3 separate regions of the Homo sapiens genome follow, and all the other regions are linked to region 1. Evidence: promoter capture Hi-C in 16 types of primary human blood cells and fetal thymus (Javierre and others, 2016). All regions are on one chromosome and are shown on one strand. The core of a region is centred on a gene start or on the middle of the fragment in contact, and the rest is flanking DNA. Distances in the headings are between cores, read along the strand shown.

What was found. Contacts are between HindIII fragments. The CHiCAGO score rates a contact against its expected background, and 5 or more counts as called.
Region 2: a fragment that was not itself captured here is called in contact with the fragment with the promoter of MICU1 in region 1 in 1 of 17 cell types (erythroblasts); the score reaches 5.0 in erythroblasts.
Region 3: a fragment that was not itself captured here is called in contact with the fragment with the promoter of MICU1 in region 1 in 1 of 17 cell types (erythroblasts); the score reaches 5.3 in erythroblasts.

Annotation. Positions count from the first base shown.
Region 1 is chr10:72,623,633-72,628,660 of GRCh38, reverse strand. MICU1 (mitochondrial calcium uptake 1) reads left to right here and starts at 2,582. Exons shown (of 12, transcript NM_001195518.2): 1 at 2,582-2,651. RefSeq lists enhancers at 2,578-2,727, 2,278-2,815. The HindIII fragment of the contact is 6,741 bases long and covers 1-4,596 here.
Region 2 is chr10:73,091,587-73,096,614 of GRCh38, reverse strand. The region is part of intron 1 of P4HA1 (prolyl 4-hydroxylase subunit alpha 1); the gene reads left to right. Among named protein-coding and RNA genes, the nearest start is that of P4HA1, 2.8 kb to the left of the region's middle. RefSeq lists an enhancer at 1-368. The HindIII fragment of the contact is 1,464 bases long and covers 526-1,989 here.
Region 3 is chr10:73,064,268-73,069,295 of GRCh38, reverse strand. It overlaps P4HA1 (prolyl 4-hydroxylase subunit alpha 1), which reads left to right. Exons shown (of 15, transcript NM_001017962.3): 5 at 313-450. Among named protein-coding and RNA genes, the nearest start is that of P4HA1, 30 kb to the left of the region's middle. The HindIII fragment of the contact is 4,527 bases long and covers 772-5,028 here.

The sequences.
Region 1 (5,028 bases), core at 1,333-3,832:
TCAGGCGATTCTCCTACCTCAGCCTCCTGAGTAGCTGGGATTACAGGCGTGTGCCACCATGCCTGGCTAATTTTTGTATTTTTAGTAGAGATAGGGTTTCACCATGTTGGCCAAGATGGTCTCGAACTCATGACCTCAGGTGATCTGCCGCCTCTGCCTCCCAAAGTGCTGGGTGCCATTGTACCCGGCCTCAATTTTAAGTCCTCATATGCTAAATTAAAAAAAGTTTATAGAGACAGGTTCTTGCGCTGTTGCGCAGGCTGGAGTGCAGTGGCATGATCATAGCTCACTGTAGCCTCAAAGTCCTAGCCTCACGTGATCATCCCATCTCAGTCTCTCAAAATGCTGAGATTATAGGTATTAGCCTCTGCCTGGCCGAATATGGTAAATATCGATAGGTATAACACACATAAATAAAAGTTATTTTGAGTCCTCAATAATTTTTAAGTGTATAGGGGTCCTAAGACCAAAACGTTTGAGAAACAATGATTTATGTTTTTAAATGTTATTTAACAGTTAGTTTGACTGATTAGTTTTATATAGACAAATGTTGCCTAAAATTAGAATTGAATTTCAGCAAATCTTTCTTTCTTTTTTTGAGACGGAGTCTCGCTTTGTCGCCCAGGCTGGAGTGCAGTGGCACGATCTTGGCTTACTGCAAGCTCTGCCTCCCGGGTTCCTGCCATTCTCCTGTCTCAGCCTCCCGAGTAGCTGGGACTACAGGCGCCCGCCACCACGCCTGGCTAATTTTTTGTATTTTTAGTAGAGACAGGGTTTCACCGTGTTAGCCAGGATGGTCTCGATCTCCTGACCCGCCCGCCTCAGCCTCCCAAAGTGCTGGGATTACAGGCGTGAGCCACCGCGCCCGGCCTGAATTACATCATTTAAGAGTGGAAGCCTCAGAGGCCTTCAGGTCAGGTCTATGTCCCGCTACTGCATGTACTGCATTACCTAGGGGTGTCAGCCTGCTTCCCTATCTGCAAATGAATAAAACAGTATCCATCCTAGAGTGGTTGTAGACAAGCACTGGGTTGTATGTAAAGCGCTAGCACAGAGCCATGAACACAATCATCTATTGTACTTAGGTTAGTTGGGTCTGAGAAGAAATGGAGAAAACAGAGTTGATTCTGCTTACTTCACAATTTACCCCAGGGATGGTTTTGTTGGCTTTGTTTCCATGGTTGTTGCCTTTTCCACAGCTCTGCTACGTAAATTCTTGGGAAAAAAAAATTATTTGAAAGTTCTCTGGGACCAGCGAGGTGGCTCGCACTTGTTAATCCCAGCACTTTGGGAAGCCGAGACGGGAGGATCGCCCGAGGTCAGGAGTTTGAGACTAGCCTGCCCAACATGGCGAAACCCCGTCTGTACTAAAAATACAAAAATTAGCCGGGCGTGGTGGGGCGTGCCTGTAATCTCAGCTACTCGGGAGGCTGAGGCAGAAGAATCACTTGAACCTGGGAGGAGGATGTTGCAGTGAGCATCACTGCACTCCAACCTGGGCGACAGTGCGAGACTCCGTCTCAAAACAAACGAACAAACAACCAACCAACACCCCGCTGCCCCCCCCCCAAAAAAATTCTCTGGTATTATAGTCATATTTCCATCCTATTTCCACAGCAGGGGTGAGGATCCTTTGCCATCCCATTTTTCTGATAAAAACACCTTCTTCAGCCGGGCGCAGTGGCTCACGCCTGTAATCCTCGCACTTTGGGAGGCCGAGGTGGGCGGATCACCTGAGGTCGGGCGTTCCAGACCAGCCTGACCAACATGGAAAAACCCCGTCTCTACCAAAAATACAAATTAGTAGGGCGTGGTGGCGCATGCCTGTAATCCCAGCTACTTGGGAGGCTGAGGCAGGAGAATCGCTTGAACCCAGGAGGCAGAGATTGCAGAGAGCCGAGATCGCTCCACTGCACTCCAGCCTGGGCATCAAGAGTGAAACTCTATCTCAAAACAAACAAACAAACAAACAAACAAAAAACACATTCTTCAAGGGAAAACATGTTTTTAAGTGGCTTCTAGAGATTATAAACTCTGCAATAATATTAGTCTGCAAATAAAACACCTGACAAAATCATCCACCAGAGGAAGTGGTGAGGGTTTCTAAATCCAAAAAAGTCTCAAGGTTATGAAACAGGAACATTTAATCTCTGAGAAAACCTAAACGGAGTTGGAAAGAAACAATTTCCAACTCACTGTGGTCCAGTTTTCTTTTCACGAACTCCTTTTTGCTTAGCCAACATAGCCAACACGAAAACGGGTACCGAGGAGGTGTTACAAGCCACAGTAAATTTCTCAACAGATTCCTATGACCCTTGTGGAGGGGAAAAAAACCAGAAGAAATGCCCGAGAGCTTCTGGGAGCTCTCCAGCTTTCCCGCCTAAACGCTGAGGGGAGTAAGGGGGAGTGACGGGGCTAGGGCGGGGCCCGAGGCTGGGGCGTGGCGCGTTGATTTCCCCGCCCCTCCCCGTTCCTTTTCCTCTGTGCCCCTCCCACACGCCTGTCTCCACGATCCCGACAGGCCCAGCGGCTAGGAGAGTCACGTGAGAGTGGGCGGAGGGGGTGGAGGTTTGTCTCCGCTGTTTCATCTCTATGGCTGTCAGAGGTGGGCGGCTTTGACCGAGAGGCTGCTGGAGCTCGTGTTTGGACGCGTGAGTCTTGGACTCTGGAGGGTATAAGGAGACAGCAATTTAGGGAAGGCGAAGGGGAAGGGGGTTGGCGAGACAGCCTTAGGGAACTGGGCTTCGTGGCTGGCCGTTTGTCCGCCCCGGGCATCCGGCTACTTCTCGGGTCTGGCGGGATACCTGTCTCTCCCTGATGCGCTCAGCTTTTGGAGAGGAGTCCGTAGTCTTGCTTGCCTCCCGTCCTCCACTTTCCTTCACCCCAACCCGTCCCTTCTCCCGTCCCGGGAGAACTTCTCCCAGTGCCGGGTTCGCAACTTGGCGCCGACGCCCCCCTCCTCACAGGCGACTGGGACACTCTGGTAGCCTTGACTGGCTCTCCTGGAATTTGTGGATGTGGTTAGAAGTGGGTGCGGGAGTTCACAGATGGATTTCTAATACGGAGAAATATTAACCACTGAATCGAAATAAGTGGAAAATCAGTGAGGACTCAAAGGAGAAATACAAAGTGCAGGCTACTCGGACTGTTCAGTTTTTATCTTTTCCAGCGCCTTCCCGTTTTCATTACGTTCTCCCTGTTTTGTTTTCACCGTCGCATTCTGGCCGGCCATAGGCTGTTTTGAGAAAGAGCTAGATGTTATTGACTCTATGTGAATGTTGGGAGAACAGTTTAAAACAAACTGTTCTTCAAGTTGCCTTCTCTGTAATCTTATGGTTGATGGTTTCTTTACCTTCCAATTTTCCATGTCTTAAAAAATACGGTGGCCATTAGTAAATATAAGTAGAATAAATATCTTATAGCTAAGGGACTAGAGTAAAATATTTTATTTTTCCTGTGGTACCTTAGAAACGCCCATTTTCTTCCTATTTATCAATAAATGTTTCTATCTCACTTGTTTGGGTGGCTTCTTTGATATGCCTTTGTTTATATTAGAACATCCCTTTGGGGCACGTAGGGAAGTGATCGAGCAGTATAAGAAAGGAGTTTGCATTTCATGAGGTGAAACAAGTTCGGTGTGGATAGCTGTAGGAGAGTTTAGGTTTCATTGGACCATATGACAAATAATAAACGTCAGTATCTTGAGACAAAGGTGTTGGCCAGAATGACCCACCTACTGTGTTTCTGGTGTGGACCAGGTAATGAGCTTTTTGAATATTGCCTTATCCTAAAAACTTTAGAACCCATTGCCACTTGTCTGTAGGAAGGTGGCTTTTGCCTCCAGCTACTCTTTGTCCCAATCCTTGGTTTGTCCCTGATTGTCTCTTCCACTTAAGAACATCACTCTGGCTACCTAATATATCAAGCAAGTGTCTCTGACATCTTCTGAGTGTCCTTACTGAGAGCCATAAAACATAATATTAACAAAAAGTGAATATTCTGGAGTGGCTTGTGTGCCTGAGGAGAAAGGGAAAGAATGATAGAAACTAATAGAAGCTAATAAATGCAAGAGAACAAAAGTGTTTATTGCTGTCTTCCTTTATATTTACTATATTCAGTAGATTGTTTACATTCCTAAGAAGTGCATCTTGAGACTAACTTTCCTGTGTTTAAGAATAAAACAGGCTGGGTGTGGTGTCTCAGGCCCATAATCCCAGCAATTTGGGAGGCCGGGTGGATCCCTTGAATCTAGGAGTTTGAGACCAGCCTGGGCAATATGGCAAGACCATCTCTACAAAACACAAAAATTAGCTGGGCGCATGCCTGTAGTCCTGGCTACTTGGGAGGCTGAGACAGGAGGATGGCTTGAGCCCTCGAGGTTGAGGCTGCAGTGAGCTGTGATCGTACCATTGCACTCCAGCTTGGGCGACAGAGCGATACCCTGTCTCTTAAAACAACAACAAAAGAATAAAACGATATGAAATTTCTCCATAATGCAATATTATGCAAAATAATTATAATTGAAATATTTAACTGACCAACTCCTTCAGATCTTATGCTATTCAGAGTTATAGGACTAATATAATTGATAAAGCTTTTTTAAACCCAATTTTGCCACCTTCAGTCTTTAAAGTTAGCTTTATCTCTTGAGCCATTTTTACAATGGCTGCAGCACTTGCTGAACATTAACCATTTTTTCCATATGCAGTTGTTTAGTGTATCCCTTTTAAAATAAGAACCAGTTTTTAATTAATTAATTAATTAATTAAATGGAGATGGGGTTCAGCCATTTTGCCGAGGCTGGTCCTTTTGTTGAGGGGTGGGGACGGAGTCTCATTCTGTTGCCCAGGCTGGAGTGCAGTGGTGTGATCTCGGCTCACTGCAACCTCTGCCTCCTGGGTTCAAGCAATTCTCCTGCTTCAGCCTCCGAAGTAGCTGGAACTACAGGCGCGGCACCACATCTGGCTAATTTTTGTATTTTTAGTAGAGATGGGGTTTTACATGTTGGCCAGGCTAGTCTCGAACTCC
Region 2 (5,028 bases), core at 8-2,507, 470 kb before region 1:
GGGAGACTCGGCCCCTCTCCCTGCGCCACGCGACTCCCGGCGCCCGCGCTCCTTCGTGCCCCCCTTCCCACCTCTGTCCCTAGTGCGCCTCGGACCGCTGGGGCTGCTGCAGCCTCAGTCCCCGCCCTAGGGACCAGGACTTTCTTGAATTTTCCTTCCCGGGGAGGAATCACTCTGTTGCTTTTTTTTTTTTCCAAGTTCCCCTGCACCTGGTCCTCCCTAACGAGGCTAAGGGGAACGCAAGCGCGGGGCGTGGGCTTTTGGCCGCCACAGCCGCAGATGGTTCGCATGTGGCGGTGGAGAGCGGATTTTAAGGCTTGGAGCTGGATCCGCAGCGCGCCAGGCATTTTTGCCCTATCGAAAGTCGCCGGGAGCTGGGGGGACCTCCCCAGAAAGTTCCGGCTGAACTCATCTGTTGCGCGCAGCGGTGCAGCATTAGCTGCCAGACGTAGCCCGGGGCGCCGAGCTTTCTGCTCGTAGCGCCGAGGAAGTAGGCTCTCAGGTCACCTCGTCGTCAGGGAAGCTTCCTTCCCTCTTCTTCCCCATAACTTTTTTTAAAAAGAGACAAGAGCTCTTCTCTCAATCTCTGTCTCTCTGTCTCTCTCTGCCGAGAATTTGCAGCTTTTAAAAGTCCACATCAGTCCAACAAATTCCATGGTTGTGTGAGGATTTTGAGTTGGATTACATGGCTGGCCCCCGGATGTATGTTTCAATGGGGAGGAAGGATGGTATGATAACTGTGAGACTCTTTCTCCTAAATAATCGACTCTGTTACATACAAATTCAATGTTTAGACACTAACATCTTACGCGTTCCGGATAGAGTGAAGACTCTTGGAATTTTGCACTGTTTTCTTTAAGAAAGGGTTGAAGAAGCAGCTAGATCCTCTTTTAGGAATTGATCTAAAAGGCCAAAGAGACTTGCCAATTTCCACTTAACTGTTTCTGGTTTCTCCGAGAGCAGTGGTTCTCGGACTTTCGCTTGGAATGCACTCGGAGGGGATGAAATAGCCACTACGTGAAGGGGGGAGGGGCAAAGACGTGGCAGCAGCGTTCTTTCATCAATTTTTTACTCTTTTTTTTTTTTTTTTTTAAAGTTCTGGTTAGAAACGTATTTCCCCTTTTAGGTTTAGACGTAGCTTATGAATGAGGCTAGTCTTTTCCTAAAATAATCAGATGAAGAATTCAGTCTGCATAGCAGGAACGTTGGAAGTTAATTTAAAAAACATTTTAAAGGGATTTTTAGAATCAAGTTTCTATGGAGAAAATCGGTATCCTAAGACGATATATTCAAGAAGCTGAAAGTGAACAACCTCAACTATATTTTGTCTTCATGTGAAATGTGAATACACACCCCGTGATTTTTTTTTTTTTTTTTTTTTTTTTTTAGCTTGTGAGCGTAATTTAAGAATCTGAAATGTGAACTTCAAATTTTACTTTTTTCTTTATGTGGGAAAAGAGACTTTATCACTTACCTTTAATAAAATTCATAGTCAGTTTTGGTTTTGGGACATTGTGCCTTAAGTCCTGCCATTGTTTTTGATAGCTGATGACAAATGTTTCTTAGATTTACATAGACTAACTAGGAAAAGGACTATTTCTGTCTCTTTTAAATGGGTAGTGCTGTTTTTATTGACATTTTGAAATGAGTTTTATTTTGAAGTACTGAAAATCAGGACTTTGGTAGGCGGATAATTACATTGGCCATTTTGTGTTTTGGTAACTTAGATGGTAAAACAGTTGAAAAATGTGTACAACTTTTAATTATGCCAAAAAAATTAGTGCAAAAGACTATTGAAAAAAAGTTTTATATTGCCTTGTAGTCTGGGTTGTTGCAGATGAATCTTGGCTTTTTGGCAAGGAGCTGTTAACCTTTTCTATTAGTGCAGAATAAGTTGTATACTGAAAAGCAGTGTTTTTCAGTAGGGCAATTAAGTTCAAACGGCATTTATTCCAGAGATGCAGCAAGAGCTGGGACAGCCATAAAGCTTGTGAGCCTTCCTTTCTGTGGAAGGAATGCTTTATTTTACTTAGCAACCAGTTATCAACTAGGATATAATTATTGCTCTTGAATTGACCTGTGAGATACATAATAGTGGTTCTCAAACTATTTTAAGGTCATGAAATCCTTTGAGAATCTGATGAAAGGTGTGGTCCTATGTCAGAAAATGCAAATACACCCTACATGGAATTTTGTATGTCACTTCCTGCCCCCCCACTCAAGTCCATTCATGAACTTTATTATAAGAACCCCTAAAAAGTAAGAGATGTGAAGTTACTCTCTAAGGGTATCTAGGTGTCTTGAGGCAGTATTGAATGTTTCTGAAAATCGAGCTGGGCATGTAAGTCTGACTGGACTTGTATATGTGGGTGACCCTAATACATTTTTGCCAAAAGGGTTTTAACAAAAGTTAATAGGTTGTTAGAATTGTTGAAATGCTAAATTGTCTAGTCTGTGAAAGTATATCACATTGCATGCCCTCTCCTATATATGGTAACTTAACTTTGGTTTTCCATTCTGAAAGTGGAACAGGCTTGGAAGTAAACAAAAATAAATTGCATAGGCTCTTGGCATTAAACTTTATTGCTTTTCTTGCAGTGAGATCTTGAATCTTGTAATTAAACCATAATGTGTTGTGTGTGTATAAATATATGAATATATATAAAAAATCCAAATAAAATGAGTATGTGTGTGTGTGTGTGTGTGTATATATATATATATATATATATATATATATATATTTTTTTTTTTTTTTTTTTTTTTTTTTTTTTTGAGATGGAGTTTCACTCTGCCACCCAGGCTGGAGTGCAGTGGTGCAATCTCGGCCCACTGCAAGCTCCACCTCCCGGGTTCACGCCATTCTCCTGCCTAAGCCTCCCGAGTAGCTGGGACTACAGCCGCCCACCATCACGCCCAGCTAATTTTTTGTATTTTTAGTAGAGACGGGGTTACACCGTGTTAACCAGGATGGTCTCGATCTCTTTACCTCGTGATCTGCCCGCCTTGGCCTCCCAAAGTGCTGGGATTACAGGTGTGATCACGCCACCGTGCCCGGCCAAAGCTTTGTGTTTCTATTCAAGAAAATTTATTTGTATAAATTGAAGCTGTCCTGTCATTAGGACAGCTTCAGTTTCTCTAGTTGAATAAGTATTGTACCTAAAGAAAAGCTTTGGCAATTCAAAAGGACTCTCATTTAGGTTACTCCAGCAGTTTTTAAACTCGGTGTGGTGAAAAACATTCTTTTTCCTGGTCTTCCTTTGGATGATCAGTATGACTGTTAGTATATTTGATTTGACATTTGCTAAAAATACATTATAGAGATTCAGACTTCTTACCTAGTTGTCATCAGTGAATGAGTTCTATATTGGGCCTTTCTCTTCCTCATGTTTAGTGTTTCATAAAAATGTGTCCATATTACTCATTTCTTTCTTAAATAGTAATATTATGTGGAATTAGTACACTCAGCCTTACTCTCTCTTTTTTTTTTTTTTTTAAGAGATAGGATCTTGCTCTGTTGCCCAGGATGGAGTGCAGTGGTGTGACCATAGCTCACTGCAGCCTTGAACTCCTGGGCTCAAGCAATCCTTCTGCCTCAGCCTCCGGGTGTAGCTCGGGGTACAGATGCATGCCACCATGTCTAGCTAATTTTTTAATTTTTTGTAGAGATGGGATCTTGCTCTGTTGACCAGGCTAGTCTCGAACTCCTGGCCTCAAGTGATTCTCCCATCTGCCCCACAAAGTGTTGGGATTATAGGTGTGAGCCACCATGCCTGGTCATCCTTACTCTCTTGTTGGACACTTGAGCTGTTTCTCCATTATAAGTAGTGCAAAGAGAGGACTGTAATTTAGTGGTTTATTTTATCAACCTGTATAATTACAGTAAACTTTAACCAATTTTTTAATTTTTAAATTTATATTTAAATTTTTTTTTTTTTAGAGACAGGGCCTTACTATGTTGCCCAGGCATGGTGGCTCACACCTGTAATCACAGCACTTTGGAAGGCCGAGGCAGGAGGATCACTTGAGGCCAGGAGTTCAAGACCAGCCTGGTCAGCATAGTGAGACCCCATCTCTCTACAAAAAAAATTTTTTTTTAATTAAGGGGGCATGAGGTTGCATGCATCTGTAGTCTAACTACTTGGGAGGCTGAGGTGGGAGGGTCGCTTGAGCCCAAGAGTTGGAAGCTGCAGTGAGCTATGATAGCACCATTGCACTCTAGCCTGGGTGAGAGTGCAAGACCCTGTCTCTAAAAAAAAAAAAAAAAAAAAGAAAAGAAAAAAAAATTATTTACAATATGGCCAGTAGACTGTAGGAAAATCAAGAATGATGAGAAATGTTTCATAGGAGAAGTAGGACATAAAAATTACATGATATAGCACCATGTGGCTAACATTTTACTAGATATTAAATCTGTAGCACTGAATGGAAATGCATATCTAGATTCACATCCTCTACAACCATGAATTCATTTTTCCCTGTTCTAGTATACATGGTCTTATTTTGTCTCTCTTTACCTCAACTTGAGAAATTTGGATCTGGCATTAGAGTAAACAGATAATTGAAGACTAGAAAGAGGTAGACTGGGTGGAAATAAAAGTGGAATTTTGACAGAATAGCCTTGGGAGGGATGAAGCTGAGTATACCTGGGCCTCAGAGCAATAATCCATTTTTTAGGAGGAAAGGGACTGCTAAAGCCAGCTTTTGAGTATTCTACTCTGACCTGAGTGGCCTTGGTCTGAATAGCTCATGTTCAGAGATAAGAGTATATTTAACTTTTTTGTACTAAGAATAGTATTTGAGTAATGTTATAGGTACATATGAGAATTTGGCCTTCATCTCTGCCGAGTCAGTTAAACACAAGTTTCTCTAGATATTTCCATTACAAGAATCAAAGCTCTTTGATTTTTGGAACTTCAGTAAAACCCAAGAATGAATAGCCGAGAACTATCATACAAGTCATAAAATTAAAAGGCATTGAACAGTGTATGAAGCATCAGATATCCTGTTACATGTGTCTGCAACAATAAA
Region 3 (5,028 bases), core at 1,786-4,285, 440 kb before region 1:
TGTTTTCTTGCTGTGTTATATAACTAAAAACTCATAACTATTATGTTAGGTGATCTTTACCTGCTAATACAGATACAATTTATATAACAGCGTCACAGTCCTTAAGCAACACTAGGCTTTTGGAAGATTGAACAAGTTAGAAGTATGCCAAGTCTTATTCAGTGTATTTAATTTTTTCTTGTTGAGTATGTAGAACTTTTCATGGTGTGGTAGAAAATAATAAAATAGATTTTGAACAATCCTTATTAAGTCTCTTTATGGGAAGTTTATGAGGTTCTACAGTTTTTTTTTCTTTGATTTATCTATTTCAAGGCTTTATCTCTAACCTAACCATTCAGAGACAGTACTTTCCTAATGATGAAGATCAGGTTGGGGCAGCCAAAGCTCTGTTACGTCTCCAGGATACCTACAATTTGGATACAGATACCATCTCAAAGGGTAATCTTCCAGGTAAGATCATTCTTCCATTCTATAAAATACCTATCACCTAGCTTCTCTGTTGAGTCCATTAACACAATGTTAGTATAAAAAAGACTTGCATTTTAAGATTTTAAATTGTAGTTTGTTTCATAGCCTTCGAAGACTAAAGAATCACCTTCCCTTTCTCTTAGGGCTTAATAGTTACGGGTATGCTTCTAGCTTCTAGCTTGTTACTCTGAAAGCTTGTATTGATAGAGACTAACTTAAGTAGGGAATTTTAGTGTGTAAGGAAAAGAAACTATCATTTCACCAAATGTTTTTATTCAGAACACCTAATACTATTTGAAAGCTTTGTATGTAAAGCTATAAGGGATTGATAGTCAAAGTTTATATGTTAAATAATTAAAAGCCAAGATGTTTTGGGTATCCACATATGTTTAAAGTGTTCCATAGTATGGAACATCCTACTTTCTGACCTATTTTTGGCAAAGTCCTCTTTTTAAGTTACAGTTGCTTTCATGATAATTTACTTTTGCCGTCCCTCACTTTTTCAAAGTTTGTGACTCATTACCACTACTATCTCCTGTTATTGTCAGCTGCAGAAATAAAATATGTTGTCTGTGTCTTCACATTGAAATTGATTTTCTCCGTAAGAAAAAATCACTGGGATGAGTTGTTAATCAAAATGTTTTCTTGCTCATCTCCCTTTATTTGAGGTGAAGGTATCCGTTGGTAAAAACTAAACATGGTATAATAGTAAATAAAATTTCTGTTAAGCTGGAATATAATTCCATTAATTTGAACTTCCAAAAATGTACAAATTTGCAAATTTTCAGTTTCTACTAATATTATACATTATAACGCTTTTGATAAGATTATAACCTTATTTTTAAAATTGGTTTCAGGTTTTCATAGATATTAAATACTTAATATGTGCCAGCTATTATGTTAGGTACTGGGGACACATAATGAACAAGACATACACTACCCTCGCCATTAGGGTATTTAACATTCTTACAGTATAGTAAGATGAGTGCTTGGATGGGAGAAATTCAGGATACCATATGAGCACATCAAAAGAAACCTATTGCTGGACCTCATAAGGGATGTAAAGGAAGAATTCCTGGAAGATACACATTAAAAAAATTGAGATCTAATGGACCAGGAATTAGCCAGAAAAATGGGGGAGAGGGAGACAGGAGTGGGTGTGGGAAAAGTGTTTCAGACAGAGGGAACATGTAGAAAGGTCAAAAGGAGAGAGCATATCATATTCAGATAACTAACATGTAGTTTGTATGGCTTAATGTAGAGTTCAAGAGGTGAACGCACCAGGTGGATATGGGGGTTTGGCTTTGTGAGAGTAGTGAGAGCTGAGACTAGAGAGGTAAGCAGAAGCCATCTCTTGGAGAGCTTTGTAAGCCATGTGGAAGAGATTGAACTGTCCTGAGTGCAGTGCGGAGCTATTAAAAAGTTTGTAAGGGAAATTTATGATTTTTCCTTTTAGAAAACCATTCTGGCTGCCGAATGGAGATTGGGTTGGGGCCAAGGGACGAAGAACCAGGGAGGAGGCTGTTGCAAATATTTAAGTAAGAGGTGGTAGTGGATAGATTATCAAGCTACTTATTAGAGTAGAATAGTAGAATTTGATGATGTACTTGATAGGAATTTCTGGCTTCATCAACTGGATAGATTCCATTTAACAAAATAGGGCTGGCATGGTGGCTCATGCCTGTAATCCCAGCACTTTGGGAGGCTAAGGTGGAAAGGATCCCTTGAGGGTAGGAGTTCAAGACCAGCCTGGGCAGCATAGCAATTCCCTGACTCTACAAAAAAATGAAAACTTAGCTGGGTGTTGTGGTGCTTGCTTGTAGTCCTAGCTATTTGGGAGGCTGAGGTGGGATGTATTCACACTGCTATGAAGAAATACCCAAGACTGGGTAAGTTATTTTAAAAAAGAGGTTTAATTGACTCACAGTTCCGCATGGCTACGGATGTCTTAGGAAACTCACAATCATGGCAGAAGGCACTTCTTCACAGGGTGGCAGGAAAGAGAATGAGGGCCAGCAGGGGAAATGCCAGGTGCTTATAAAACCATCCTATCTCATGAGAACTCACTGTCACAAGAACAGCATGGGGGAACTGCCCCCATGATGCAGTTATCTCCACCTTGTCCCGCCCTTGATAGGTGGGGATTATTAAAATTCAAGGTGATATTTGGGTGTGAACACAGAGCCAAACCATATCACGGGAGGATCACTTGAGCCCAGGAGTTCAAGGCTGCAGTGAGCTGTGATCACGCCACTACACTCCAACCTGGGCAACAGAGTGAGACCCCTATCTCAAAAAACAAAAAGCAAAAAAGAAAACATCCCACCTCAGCCTCCCAAATGTGTGGTGGTGGGTAATAAATGTTATTTAGATTACTATATGTGTTTTGTTTAAAAAATGATTATATTCCCATCAAAATGGTCCTGAATATTATTTAACCCTGATTTCACTGTGTTTAGTCTTAGGGGCAATATTCATTCTTTCTCAGGTGCTTTTTATCTCCTTGTTGACTTTTTTCCTCTTTTATCACAGTTTTGGGCTAGTTCTTATTGACTTTTCTTTCAGGCAAATTCCTTATAAGTAGAATAACTGAAATTTCCTAATCACATTATACCCTATAAGTGGTAAAAATAATAGCATGAATACTAGCATAAGAGTTTTTAGGCTCCCCCAACCCAGATTATTTTCTGTTGTTAATAGTCAAATATCACAAATGTGTTCGAAGGCTTCTTGTGCACCTTCCCTTGTTTAGAGGTAATGACTATTCTGAACTTGGTGCGTATCCTGTCATCTTTTTATACTTTATCATATATATTTTCCATTGTATTGTGTTTTTAAATTTTATGTCAATAGTACATCATACTCTATGTATCTTTCTACAACCTTTTTTTAACCTAATATTTTCAGTAAATTTATCTGTGTTGATCAGATTCATCTAACTGCTAATGTGGTATTGTATAACATTATTTATTCATTCTTCTGTGGATGGATGTACATTTAGATTTTGTCCAATTTTTTGCTTTATCAAATGAAGTTTGATACATCTTTGTTGATTTCTTTTTGTGGCCATGTACTCACGTGCAAGGCTTTCTCTTAGGGTATAAGAAATCATAGGGTATTTGGTTTTTCATCATACTTACCAGATGTGGCCAGATTGCTTTCCAGAGCATGTATTTATACTGTCACCAGCATTGTATGAGAGTTCCCATTTCTTCATATCCTTGCCAGCTCTTGGTTTTGTCAGACTTTAAAAATTTTAGCAATCTGGGTGTGAAATGGTGGGGGTGAGGGAGGAAGGATGCATGTATTTTAAATTTTCTTCAAACAAAAAAGTCAGAGAAATGCTTAGTGAATTTATATTGATGCCACATCACTCCTTGATTAGTTTCATCTGTTTCTTTTGCCTCTTTGGGCCTATCTTTTGAAATGCTTTGTTGGTATTTTAATGAAAAATCTGATAGGTTACATGCATTTTGACATCAGTGTTGTCCTTATAGTTCTTAAGGACTTCCTTCAGTTTTCAGATTGTTTGTTCCCAACCCTGATTTGTTGAATAGATCCATATCTGCCAAAGATATCATGCTTTTTTTTAAGCTGTGATTTTTTTTAGGGGGTGGGGGTCAGTAATAGAAAATGTCATATGTACAAAATTCAATTTGCTTCATGTGGAAGTTGAATGTTCACCCTTCTGGTCACTTGCATCACTGTCTTGGTAAGTTAATAAGGTAACTATAGCAAACAGTAGATTCTCCAGACATCTCTGGAGCTCACTCAGCTATCAGTGTACCACACTGCCTCAGAGGTGGGACATTAACTTCTAAGTGTGTGCATTTTAAACATAATTATCCCTTACAAATTAAGTTTTGATCCATTAAGTGTTCTTGTGAAGTGCAAGAATTTTTGGATTACGTGTCTCTCTCAGTTTAACGGATGATGTCTCTCTCAGTTTAACGGATGAACCATAAAAATCGATTTCTTTTTCTTTTTTGACATGGAGTCTCACTCTGTTACCCAGGCTGGAGTGCAGTGGCGCAGCTCGGCTCACTGCAACCTCTGCCTCCTGGGTTCAAGCGATTCTCTTGCCTCAGCCTCCCAAGTAGCTGGGATTACAGGTGCCCACCACCATGTCCAGCTAATTTTGTTATTTTTAGTAGAGATGAGGTTTCACCGTGTCAGCCAGGCTGGTTTTCAGCTCTTGACCTCAAGTGTTCCGTCCACCTCAGCCTCCCGAACTGCTGGAATTAAAGGCATGAGCCACTATGTCTAGCTAAAAATGTATTTCTAAATAATGTTTTTCCTATAGTGCCTATGATATTATAGTTTATTTTCTTTATTTTCTTTATTTTTTTGAGACAGGATCTCACTCTGCTATCAACCCAGGCTGGAGTGCAGTGGCACAATCACAGCTCACTACAGCCTCAACCTCCCAAGCTAAGGTGATCCTCCTACCTCAGTCTCCCAAGTAGCCAGGACTACAGGCATGTGCCACCACAAGCAGCTAATTTTTGTATTTTTTGTAGAGACAGGGTTTTGCCATGTTATCCAGGCTGGTTTCGAACT